2 separate regions of the Homo sapiens genome follow, and region 1 is linked to region 2. The links are contacts of gene promoters, found by promoter capture Hi-C in human tissues and cell types (Jung and others, 2019). All regions are on one chromosome and are shown on one strand. Each heading gives the region's core, a stretch centred on a gene start or on the middle of the fragment in contact. The rest is flanking DNA. Distances are from core to core; before and after follow the strand shown. Region 1 overlaps ADAP2 (ArfGAP with dual PH domains 2). Region 2 holds the start of TEFM (transcription elongation factor, mitochondrial).

Region 1 (5,955 bases), core at 1,616-4,115, 49 kb before region 2:
TGTGGAGGAGAGGGACAGCAAAGGGACAGGCGTACAAAGACAGAGGGAGCCATGGCCGGGCACAGTGGCTCATGCCTGTAATCCCAGCACTTTGGGAGGCCGAGGCAGGTGGATCACTTGAGCTCAGGAGTTCGAGACCAGCCTGAGCAACATGGTGAAACTCTGTCTCTACCAAAAATACAAAACAAATTAGCTAGATGTGGTGTCACGAGCCTGTAGTCCCAGCTACTTGGGAGGCTGAGGTGAGAGGATTGCCTGAGCCCAGGAAGAAGAGGTTGCAGTGAGCTGAGATCGCACCACTGCACTCCAGCCTGGGTGACAGTGCAAGACCCCACCTCAAAAAAAGAAAATTAAAAAAAAAAACACAAAGACAGAGGGAGCCAGAATAAAAAACAGAATGAAAGAGTGAGAGCCAGGGCGTCAGAGGGAATGCACACACCAGCAAAGGAGAGAAAAGTGGAGGGACAGAGACAGAGAGAAACCAAGAGATTCATAAATGGCAGCCCACAGAGAAAAGAAAGCACCAGCTGATATGCCTCACTCACAATTTGCAAGTCCCTTTCTGAGGTTCTCTGGCTTTGGCCTTTATGGGACAGTCAAGAGAGTCTGTGTTTATATCAGTCAGACTCAAAGGGCACAAGTGTTTCCCCCAAGGGGCTGTGCGGGGGTCACCTGCTCAGTCTGTACTTTTCCAAACACAGAAATTCTCCTTTGTGCCCCAGAAGCCAGGTCCTGGGCCAGCAGTTTCCTGCCGGAGCTCGGCATGTCTCCCCTTTTTTCACAGGGCTGTCAGCATTGAGGAAGCCCTACTGGTAAAGAGGAGGAACAGGAGAGAGGCAGACAGAAGGGAGGACTCAAAGAAAAGAAGCCACTAGAAATAGCCTTCCCTCTGGAGTGGGGAGGAATCCAAAAATCCCAGGAGCTGCCCAGCGGGTGTGACCTTAGCTAATAATAACAGGCCAGCGTTTTCTCACGAGAAAAAGGATCAGCATAGAGCACGGTGGAGGGAAAGAGAAGCTGCTTAGCCCCCACACCGCAAGGGGTACAGACAGCACCCAGGGGTTCTGCCAGGGCCAAACTCCTCTAAAAGCTCCTGGGGAAGGGCTCGGTTAGGGGAACCCAGAGTGGACAGAGGAGACCTTTTGGCAATAATGGCATGTCTGTGCTTTTCTTTTGCAGGAAGAGAAGACAATGAAAAGAGCATAGTCAGGAATCAGGAATCTTTTGTGGTATCAAAGCTGAACCTAAGTGAAGAAGCAATTTTCTGTCCTCTGCCCTTGTCCAAAAGAACACCCCTCAGTTCCTGCTTCTTACTAAGCCGGTTGAGGGGCGTCAAGGGGCTGGACAGGACACCCCGCAAACTTTCCAGCCATTCCTGCTGTTCCTTCTCACTGGGGCAAGTGAGGACAAATCTCCGCTCTGGGGTGACAATGGTGAGTCCGGCTTTCCAGCGATTTCCTCGGATGCCCTTGGGCAGGTCTTCGTAGGCTTCATATCCCTGCTCCTTGTTCCCAAGAAAAACCTGGCCCTGCTCGAAGGCATCCTGAAAATGGAGAGTACAGGGTCATCAGAGGGTGCCCCCAGGGCAGAGGGGCCCTGCAGCCCTGACAGCCTCCAAGCTTTATTTTGGGAAAGGGGTATGAGGTCCCTGCTGGGATTTCTGCTAAGTGGGACCCAGAATTTGAAAGATCAAAACCCTAAAATAAATCATACACATCATCTATTGAAAAGATACCGAGGGTGGGCCTGGTAGTTCATGCCTGTAATCCTAGCACTTTGGGAAGCCAAGGCAGAGGATTGCCTGAGGCCAGGAATATGAGACCAACCGGGACAACATAGTGAGACCCCTTCTCTACAAAAAAAAATTATTAATTATTATTATGAATTGTTTTTGGAGACAGGGCCTCACTCTGTCACCCAGGCTGGAAGTGCAGTGGCACAATCATGGCTCATCCCAGCCTCAACCTCCCAGGCTCAGGCAATCCTCCCACCTCAGCCTCCCAAGCAGCTAGGACTACAGGCATGCACCACCACACCTGACTAATTTTTAAGTTTCTTTTTTTTTCTTTCTTTTTTTTTTTTTGAGACGGAGTCTCACTCTGCACCCAGGCTGGAGTGCAATGGCATGCACCCTCTGCACCCTCTGCCTCCCGGTTTCAAGCGATTCTCCTGCCTCAGCCTCCTGAGTAGCTGGGCTTACAGGCACGCACCACCACGTCCGGCTAATTTTTGTATTTTTAGTAGAGACAGGGTTTCACCATGTTGGTTAGGCTAGTCTCGAACTCCTGAGCTCGTGATCTGCCCCGCCTCAGCCTTCCAAAATGCTGGGTTTACAGATGTGAGCCACCGTGCCTGGCCTTAAGTTTCTTGTAGAGATGGGATCTCACTATGTTGCACAGGCTGGTCTCGAACTTCTGGGCTCAAGCGATCCTCCTGTCTCAGCCTCCCAAAGTGCTGGGATTACAGACAAAAGGCAGCACATCCAGCCCTAAATTTTTTTTTTTTAATTAGCTGGGCATGGTGATGCATGCCTGTATTCTGAGCTACTTAGGAGGCTGAGGCAGGAAGATAACTTGGGCCCAGAAGTTCAAGGTTGCAATGAGCTGTGATTGTGCCACTGCATTCCAGCCTGGGTGACAGAGAGAGACTCTGTCTCTAAAAAAAAAAAAATAAGTGATACCTAACATTTACGGAGCACTTATTAAAATCAGCATCAGGAATTACAATGCTTTATATATAGTAACTTAAATAACCATCATGGCAACCTCTGGGGAAGGCATTCTTATTAAGCCTGTTTTTCAGAGGAGGAAACCGAGGCACAGAGCACTAAGTACACGGCTCAAGGCAACACTACTACAAGTGGCAGGGCTGAGACCAGAGCCCAGACGGTGGGGTTCTAGAGTCCACCACACTCCTAACTACTACACATCACGGCCTCTTGGTTAGAAGTGAGCCCTGGAGACTAGAGGAAGAGATACACCATATTTAACTACCATGGGCAGCATTTTGGATACTCATAATAGACTTCCTGAAAGCGAGGAGAAGCTTCATGCCATAGGAGATTACTCAAGAGAAACAAAAACAAGGGGTAGAGGTTTTCCTCTCAAGGTTTCTCTAGCTCTGGGGCTCTGGGAGATGTGTTTATCTGTAGCTTTCACATAGTTCCAGACAAGCACCACCCAGCAATGTTTGAGGAAGCCCTGGGGAGGGAGCAGGAGTGGCTCTTACCAGTGGGTTCTTGTAATAGAGCAGCCTCCGCTCATGGCAATCCAGGGCGAACCACCTTTTCTTGAAAGGTTCTTTCTGCTGCAAAAGAGGGAACTTCTTACCACAGATGACCAGGTCAGTTTCTGAGGATAGAGGTCAGGGGCCAGCCCAGCCCAAACCAAAGGAGCTGGCCAGTCCCACTGGTTCTCCAGCCCAGCCTCCTCAGTCAGACATCCTAGTGCTTCTCCCTGGGGCCTGGATAGGAGCCCTCAGGCTCTGAAGGTTCTGCCCATTCCCCTTCCAACCCCACCATACCCTTTGCCAGCTTCACCCTGCTGCCTCAACTTGGAAGAGGCACCTTCCTCTTTTTCAGGCTGTAGACAAAGAAGCCGGAAAGGAAGTTGGAAAAAATCAGAAGTGGCTACTGCTTGGCAAGGCTGAAAGTGCTGGCCTTGGCCAAATTCTAACCTAGGTCAGGGAGAGAAAGCCCAGCAACAAGAACCAGGCGGAGGGGCTGCGCCTCTCTGAAAACAACCCTTTGACTGCTTTTTCCACCTGCCCAAGGCTTGCTTTCATGATTGCCTAACACAGGAATATCCAATCTCTTGCCTTCCCTGGGCCACATTGGAAGAATTGTCTTGGGCCACACATAAAATACACTAACACTAATGATAGCTGATGAGCCAAAAAAAAAAAATCGCAAAAATATCTCATAATGTTTTAAGAAAGTTCACGAATTTGGCTGGGCATGGTGGCTCATGCCTGTAATCCCAGCACTTTGGGAGGCTGAGGTGGGCAGATCGCTTGAGGTCAGGAGTTCGAGACCAGCCTGGCCAACATGGTGAAACCCCATCTCTACTAAAATTACAAAAATTAGCCGGGCATGGTGGTGGGCACCTGTAATCCCAGCTACTCAGGAGTCTGAGGCAGGAGAATCGCTTGAATCTGGGAGGCGGAGGTTGCAGTGAGCCGAGATCACACCACTGTACTCTGGCCTGGGTGACAGAGCAAGACTCTGTCTCAAAAAAATTTAAAAAAGAAAGTTTATGAATTTCTGTTGGGCATCATTCCAAGCCGTCCTGGGTTGCATGTGGCCCATGGGCTGTGGGTTGGACAAGCTTGGCCTAACACCTTTCACTGTCCTCTTAACAATCATCCCATAAACACATGAAACCTTCTATATACATTAAACCATATTAAGTTCCCCAGGGAGTGATAGAAGGTACCTTTGGCCCAGTCTTTTCCATGAAGCCTTGTTTGAGGTAGTTCCTGGTGAGGAATGGCACGAGCTGGGGAAGAGAGACAGACACTGACCCCCAACTCACACCCCAAGGCTCCAGGTTCCCGCCGAGCTTGGCTCCCGACAAAGGGGAAGTTTGAAATGGGGAAGGATGTACGCTCATGGCTCACAGTATTATATTTGGAAAGTGCAATGGTCATAATATTAATATTTCAACAAAGCCAGTCGACAGCACCCCAGATGTTTGCAGAGCTTAGTGGCACGGCCGAGTTTTGGTTTAAGGATTCCTTCAGTAACCCCAGGGTGTGGACATAGGCAAGGCTCTGCAGAGACCCTCTTGGTGTCAGGCAACATGTTCTGAGGGTCCACTTTGCATCAGGCTCCAGGTGCAATTCTCAATCACCCTGCGAGGTGGGTATCACCAGCCTCATTACACATCTGAAGAAACCAGGCCACAGAGAAGGGGCTGGGGATTTTCCCAAAGTCACATCACTGGTAGCACAAAGAGCTGAGATTCAGGCCCAGGGCCAATGACACTAGACTGTACTCCTACCACTACACTAGGTGCTAAAGTATAAATATGCCAGGGCCCTCTGAGCAGGACCTTGGGAAAGGCCTGGTCAGGATTCTGACACCAAGCAACAAGAAAATAATGGCCAGAGGCTGGGTGCAGTGGCTCACACCTGTAATCCCAGCACTTTGGGAGGTCAAGGCAGGCAGATCACTTGAGGCCAGGAGTTTGAGACTAGCCTGGCCAACATGGCGAAACCCCACCTTTACCAAAAATATAAAAATTAGCTGGGCATGGTGGCACGCGCTTGTAATCCCAGCTACTCAGGAGGCTGAGGCAAGAGAATCCCTTGAACTTGGGAGGCAGAGGTTGCAGTGAGCTGAGATAGTGCCACTGCACTCCAGTCTGGGTGACAGAGGGAGACTCCATCTCAAAACAAAACAAAACAAAAAAGAAAAGAAAATGATGCCAGAGTGGACAGAGAAAGTTCTGAAGCAGAAGTCGGGAGACCTGGTTCTAATTCCAGTTCTGGCCTCCATCAGCTGCATTACCTTTGTTAAGACCTTCTGTCTCTCGAGGCCTTATGTCTCCCCTGTGTGATAAACAGCCTGGATCATGTGATCCCCAGCATCCCTTCCAGCCTGGCAGCCTACGCCCAGAGATGTTTCCAGGGGTTGATGATGGCCTCCTATGCTCCTAGGCATCAACCTGGAAAGTCTAGAGCTTCAAATGACAGTCCAGGCTTCAAAGAACAGAGAGGCTTCTCCAGAGCTCCAGGGCCCAGGGCAGAGGCACAGGGGAAGTGAGGTCTGGGGAACAGCTATGGGAAGTTTAAAAGGGGGAAATTTGTGAGCCAAAAATGAAAATATTAGGCCAGGCGCAGTGGCTCACGCCTGTAATCCCAGCACTTTGGGAGGCCGAGGCGTGTGGATCACGAGGTCAGGAGATCGAGACCATCCTGGCTAACACGGTGAAACCCCGTCTCCACTAAAAATAC
Region 2 (5,510 bases), core at 211-2,710:
TTCGTAGAGACGGGGTTTCGCCATGTTGCCCAGGGTGGTCTGGAACTCAAGAGCTCAAGCGATCCGCCCGTCTCGGCCTCCCAAAGTGCTGGAATTACACTTTGGGAGCCACTGCTCCCGACCAGCACATTTTATTAATACTTATGATTCCCCTACATCCCCACTGCCTTCCAGACACAAACAATCAACCCATTGCTGCCTCATAAAAACGCAAACTCATCACCTTTCCCTCCCTCCTGAATTCCCCGTTTTTCACAAAACTGGCTCCCCATCTTCCAGAAATAATTCTTTTCTTTCCACTCTCCTTACATCTCCTAGGTTCAATTCCTTACGGTTGGCCAGGCGCAGTGGCCCACGCCTGTAATCCCAGCACTTTGGGAGGCCGAGTCGGGCGGATCACCTGAGGTCAGGAGTTCGAGACCAGCCTGGCCAACATGGTGACACCTGTCTCTACTAAAAATACAAAAATTAGCCGGGCGTAGTGGCGCTCGCCTGTAATCTCAGCTACTCGGGAGGCTGAGGCACGAGAATCACTTGAAATCGGGAGGCGGAGTTTGCAGTGAGTCCAGATCGCACCACTGCACTCCAACCTGGGCGACAGAGCAAGACTGTTAAAAAAAAAATTCCTTACGCTTGCCTCTCACCTGGGAAGATACACTCTCTTCGCGACTTCTCATTGCTCCCAGGCTCTTCACCTGCAATCCAGCCTCACATTCGCTATACAGTATATGGCCAATTTTCTAGGAACACTCTCCAGTCTGACTGCAAATCATAAACCTCGGGGACTTCAGGCTTCCTATCTGGTGGAGTATTCAACTGCTCCACCCATTATTCAAGGACCAACTAAATTCGGCGCTACATTCATCTCCCTTTATCCCTTCTAAGAGGAATACCGCTCCAGCGCCAACGCAATCTCCTCCTCCCTCGCCTTTACCTAATCCCTTGCCTGCCCTGTTTCCCCGCTGAGCTCCTCAAACACTTCGCATCTCTCCCCGTTATTCCAGTCTACCTGGTGAAAAGGTTATTTGAGGACCTTGTCTACGCTGCCCCTACCTGATCCCGCTCCCGGCGCCACAGGCTGGGCCCCAACAGGAGCTCCTCAATCTAAGTGTCTAGGAGAAACCCAGGGAGTCTCCACGAAGGAGGCACTTTACCCACTACAGACTAAAACTGGCCTCGGAATCGCCTTCCTGGAGATTCGGCCCAGCGGCTCTCAGGAGTCGGTAGGGGCAAGAACGTTTCCCCGGTGCAGTGGAAGAAGACTGCGGGCCAGCCAGGGACTCGGGATCCGGGGACAGGGCCTCGGCAGGCGCCCGCCTGGAAGCCCGCAGCCCAGACGCGGACGACCCACTGCTCAGCGGGACACACCTCGGGCCTTGCCCCGGAACGCCGCTTGGACAACAACCTTTCCGCCGAGTGCAGGCCGAGCGCTTTTGGGCGCAGCACGCAGGAACCGGAAGTCAATGGAGGAAGACTGGACCTACTGATTCAACTTGGAGATGAGCGGGTCTGTCCTCTTCACGGCGGGAGGTAGGGTGCTTGGAACACTGGGGTGATTTCCCGTCTGTCATTAGCCTCTGACCCTAGAGGCTAATGGAATACGGCGGGAGGTAGGGTGCTTGGAACACTGGGGTGATTTCCCGTCTGTCATTAGCCTCTGACCCTAGAGGCTAATGGAATACGGCTGGAGGTATTCTGGAGGAACCTGGAGTGTTTCCTTCCTCATGTCCCTCATGTCCTAGAGTGTTTCCTTCCTCATGTCCCTTGTTCAGGCCCCTCTCTTGGGGCCCCAGCCTAGCTGACGGGGCAGTTTTCGGAACATTTGTGCTTCCCCGGCCTCAGGGTCCACGGGTGGCTCCTCAGAGTGGGCGGATGGTTCACATTCTCACAGCCGCTTGCTTACCTCTGGCCACATTACTTTCCTGTGGCTGCGATGTTAGAGTGACTTCCCACTGGTTTTACAAAGTTATGCATTGTATGGTGTTTCTCATACTTGCAAAAACGTCATGTAGAAGTCTTGAAAAGTGTACGGAAGAAAGTAAAACTGCCCTTAAATCTATCACTTAGCTGAAACATTTCTTATAAACGTACAAAATTTAATTTTATTTAGTTCCACCAGATGAGATACTAAAATGTGAAAATGGAAGTGAAGACAAAACCCTTTTTTTTTTTTTTTTGAGACGGAGTTTCGCTCTTGTTGCCGAGACTGGAGTGCAATGGTGCGATCTCGGCTCACCGCAACCTCCGCCTTCCGGGCTCAAGCGATTCTCCTGCCTCAGCCTCCCGAGTAGCTGGGATTACAGGCATGTGCCACCACGCCCGGCTAATTTTGTATTATTAGTAGAGACAGGGTTTCTCCATGTTGGTCAGGCTGGTCTCGAACTCCCGACCTCAGGTGATCCGCCCACCTCGGCCTCCCAAAGTGCTGGGATTATAAGCGTGAGTCACCGCGCCCGGCCTAAGACAAACCTTAACAGGAAATATTAGTTACAAAAAGATTCCTCTAAATTAAAAATATCAGAAACTTTAAGCAGTTGGAATAATTATTTCAACTACTTGCTTCCTGATGGGTATAAAATACAATTTTCTAGGTAGTAAAACTTCGGACTGATCCATAAATATCGGGAGACATCTCTCGTGACTTGAAAACAACAAAAGCTCTATTTAAAACTCTATATAATATAGTTTAAAAACTAATCCTCTTTTAAAGATGATTCTCGGGCCGGGCACAGTGGCTCACGCCTGTAATCCCAGCACTTTGGGAGGCTGAGGTGGGCGGATCACGAGGTCAGGAGATGGAGACCATCCTGGCTAACACTGTGAAACCCCGTCTCTACTAAATATACAAAAAATTAGCCGGGCGTGGTGGCAGGCGCCTGTAGTCCCAGCCACCTGGGAGGCTGAGGCAGGAGAATGGCGTGAACCTGGGAGGCGGAGCTTGCAGTGAGCCGAGATCGGCCACTGCACTCCAGCCTGGGCAACAGAGCAAGACTCCGTCTCAAAAAAAAAAAAAAAAGATGATTCTCCAAGACAATTTAATATTGTCCTCTATTAGTTCTTAAATTCCAGGAAAGTATTTGTGACTTTGCAAAGGATCTAGTCAAGCTTGCAACTAACCCCAAAGGAAGTAGGACATCCAACTTATATTTTGCTAAATTTTCCTTTTAGAGAGGTGGAGATGCTTTCTGACCCCGTCGAGGTCATCCCTGTACTGGGCCTTACATAATTTCTGCTGTCGGAAAAAATCCACTACACCTAAGAAAATTACTCCCAATGTTACTTTTTGTGATGAAAATGCAAAGGAGCCCGAAAATGCACTTGACAAGCTCTTCTCTTCAGAACAGCAGGCTTCCATCTTGCATGTGTTGAATACAGCATCTACTAAAGAACTTGAAGCTTTCCGATTGCTTCGTGGAAGAAGGTCCATCAATATCGTAGAGCACAGAGAAAACTTTGGGCCATTTCAGAATTTAGAGAGTTTAATGAATGTGCCCTTGTTTAAGTATAAAAGTACAGTTCAAGTTTGTAACTCCATACTTTGTCCAAAGACTGGACGGGAAAAAAGAAAGTCACCGGAAAACCGGTTCCTGAGAAAGCTCCTCAAACCAGACATAGAAAGAGAAAGACTTAAGGTATATTCTTCATGTCTGCTATACTGCCTAATATTTGAGAACCTACTCTAGAAAGCACTCTTCTGGGCATTGGGTTGGGAAGTGGCTAAGACAGGGTTCTTCAGGTTTAGTTGGCAAGTATATGATCACTACCAAATAATGAGATGTACAGATAGTAAATTGGCAGTTGAGAGGAGAGAAAACAATGGGCTGTGACTGTTGTGGAAAGTTTACTGGAAGAACTCAATTTAGGTCTTAAAAGAGAGATCCTTTGGATGGGAGAGGAGGGCATTGTAGGTAGAAAGAACAGTTGATGCTGAGAAGCAGGTCTAGGCAAGGCTTATTTAAGAGGAGTGTCGTTGGAGATACCAGGCTGTGTCTAAGGGTGATGTTAGGATTAATGAGAAATTAAGGAGCAAAGATAGGTTATGGCCAGTGAGTGACTTTAGAACATTATACCAGTCTTTCCGGCAGAATTTAAAATTATTTTCTGTACCTTTTCTCCTTTAAAAAGCATTTTATCTTGAATCATGCAAGTCTATAGGTAAGATTAAAAAAAAAAAAAAAAAGCGGCTGGCTCACACCTGTAATCCCAGCACTTTGGGAGGCCAAAGCGGGCGGATCACAAGGTCAAGAGATCCAGACAATCCTGGCCAATGTGGTGAAAGCCCATCTCTACTAAAAATACAAAATTTAGCTGGGCATGGTGGCGTGGGCCTGTAGTCCCAGCTACTCGGGAGGCTGAGGCAGGAGAATCTCTTGAACCTGGGAGGCAGAGGTTGCAGTGAGCTGACATCACGCCAGTGCACTCCAGCCTGGCTACAGAGCAAGACTCTGTCTCAAAAAAAAAAAAAAAACACCATTCTAAAAGCAATTCTTTTTCTATTGTCTTAAAAAAATAAATACTAGAAATATTTGACACAGCCAATTTTTTTTTTTTTTTTTTTTTTGAGACAGAGTCTTGTGCTGTCGCCAGGCTGGAGTACAGTGGCATGATCTCACAACAACCTCCACCTCCCAGGTTCAAGCGATTCTCCTGCCTCAGCCTCCTGAGTAGCTGAAACTACAGGCACATGCCACCACGCCCAGCTAATTTTTGTATTTTTAGTAGAGATGAGGTTTTACCATGTTGGCGCCAGGATGGTCTTGATCTGTTGACCTCGTGATCCACCTGCCTCGGGCTCCCGAAGTGCTGAGATTACAGGTGTGAGACACTGCGCCCGGCCACAGCACTCAAGTATTAAACTTTAGAGGAACTCATGTCCTGTGTAACATTGCTTGATAATCATTATCTCATAAAAATCATAAGCACCATTTTTTTTCTGGACCAGTGGGTCCGTTTTTTGAGGAATATGGGTACTTTTGAAAACCTGATGAAAGCTGTGGACCCTCTTCCCATAGAAAAAGATATAGCACATATACACAGAATACTACACAGTTTCAGAGGACTGGCAGATTCTGTTAAGTCCACTCATGGACTCCAAGTAGAACTGCTGCAATTGATCTGGAACATATTTTAACCAAATTCTTCAGGGAGGATTCTCATCCAGATTCATGGCCAAAACTATTTATACCCAGATTAGAGTGGAGTTGCATCTTATTTAGGGGGCTGGATTTTAAGTCAGTTTTTATGGAGATATAAGTCATGCAGTAAAATCCTTTAAGAAAAAATCGATTGCCGACGAAGTATTGTGTGTAGTCTGGTTCAGTAATGCTTGTGCACAGTAAAGCTTGAGAGTCACTTAGCTAAAGAAAACCAAAAGGAAGTCTGTATTTTGGGCATCTATACTATTTTGTCTTTAAGATATTTATCCAGTCCTTAGCAATGAAAGGGAGATGGGTATACAACTAATTGTTCCTGTTTATTTGCCTCTGTATCTATAGAACATATTAGTTTGT

Evidence for each region. The method cuts DNA at HindIII sites, captures the fragments that hold promoters and counts their contacts. A contact is called where the count stands out against the background at its distance.
Region 1: a fragment that was not itself captured here is called in contact with the fragment with the promoter of TEFM in region 2 in 1 of the 25 tissues and cell types used here (pancreas).

What each region holds. Positions count from the first base shown.
Region 1 is chr17:30,951,829-30,957,783 of GRCh38, reverse strand. ADAP2 (ArfGAP with dual PH domains 2) reads right to left here. Exons shown (of 11, transcript NM_018404.3): 8 at 4,434-4,496; 9 at 3,229-3,306; 10 at 1,315-1,543. Among named protein-coding and RNA genes, the nearest start is that of RNF135, 16 kb to the left of the region's middle. RefSeq lists an enhancer at 521-570. The HindIII fragment of the contact is 5,308 bases long and covers 212-5,519 here.
Region 2 is chr17:30,902,188-30,907,697 of GRCh38, reverse strand. It overlaps TEFM (transcription elongation factor, mitochondrial), which reads left to right and starts at 1,460. Exons shown (of 4, transcript NM_024683.4): 1 at 1,460-1,530; 2 at 3,169-3,632. The coding sequence starts at 1,500. RefSeq lists enhancers at 1-722, 701-970 and a silencer at 5,460-5,510. The HindIII fragment of the contact is 8,355 bases long and covers 1-4,369 here.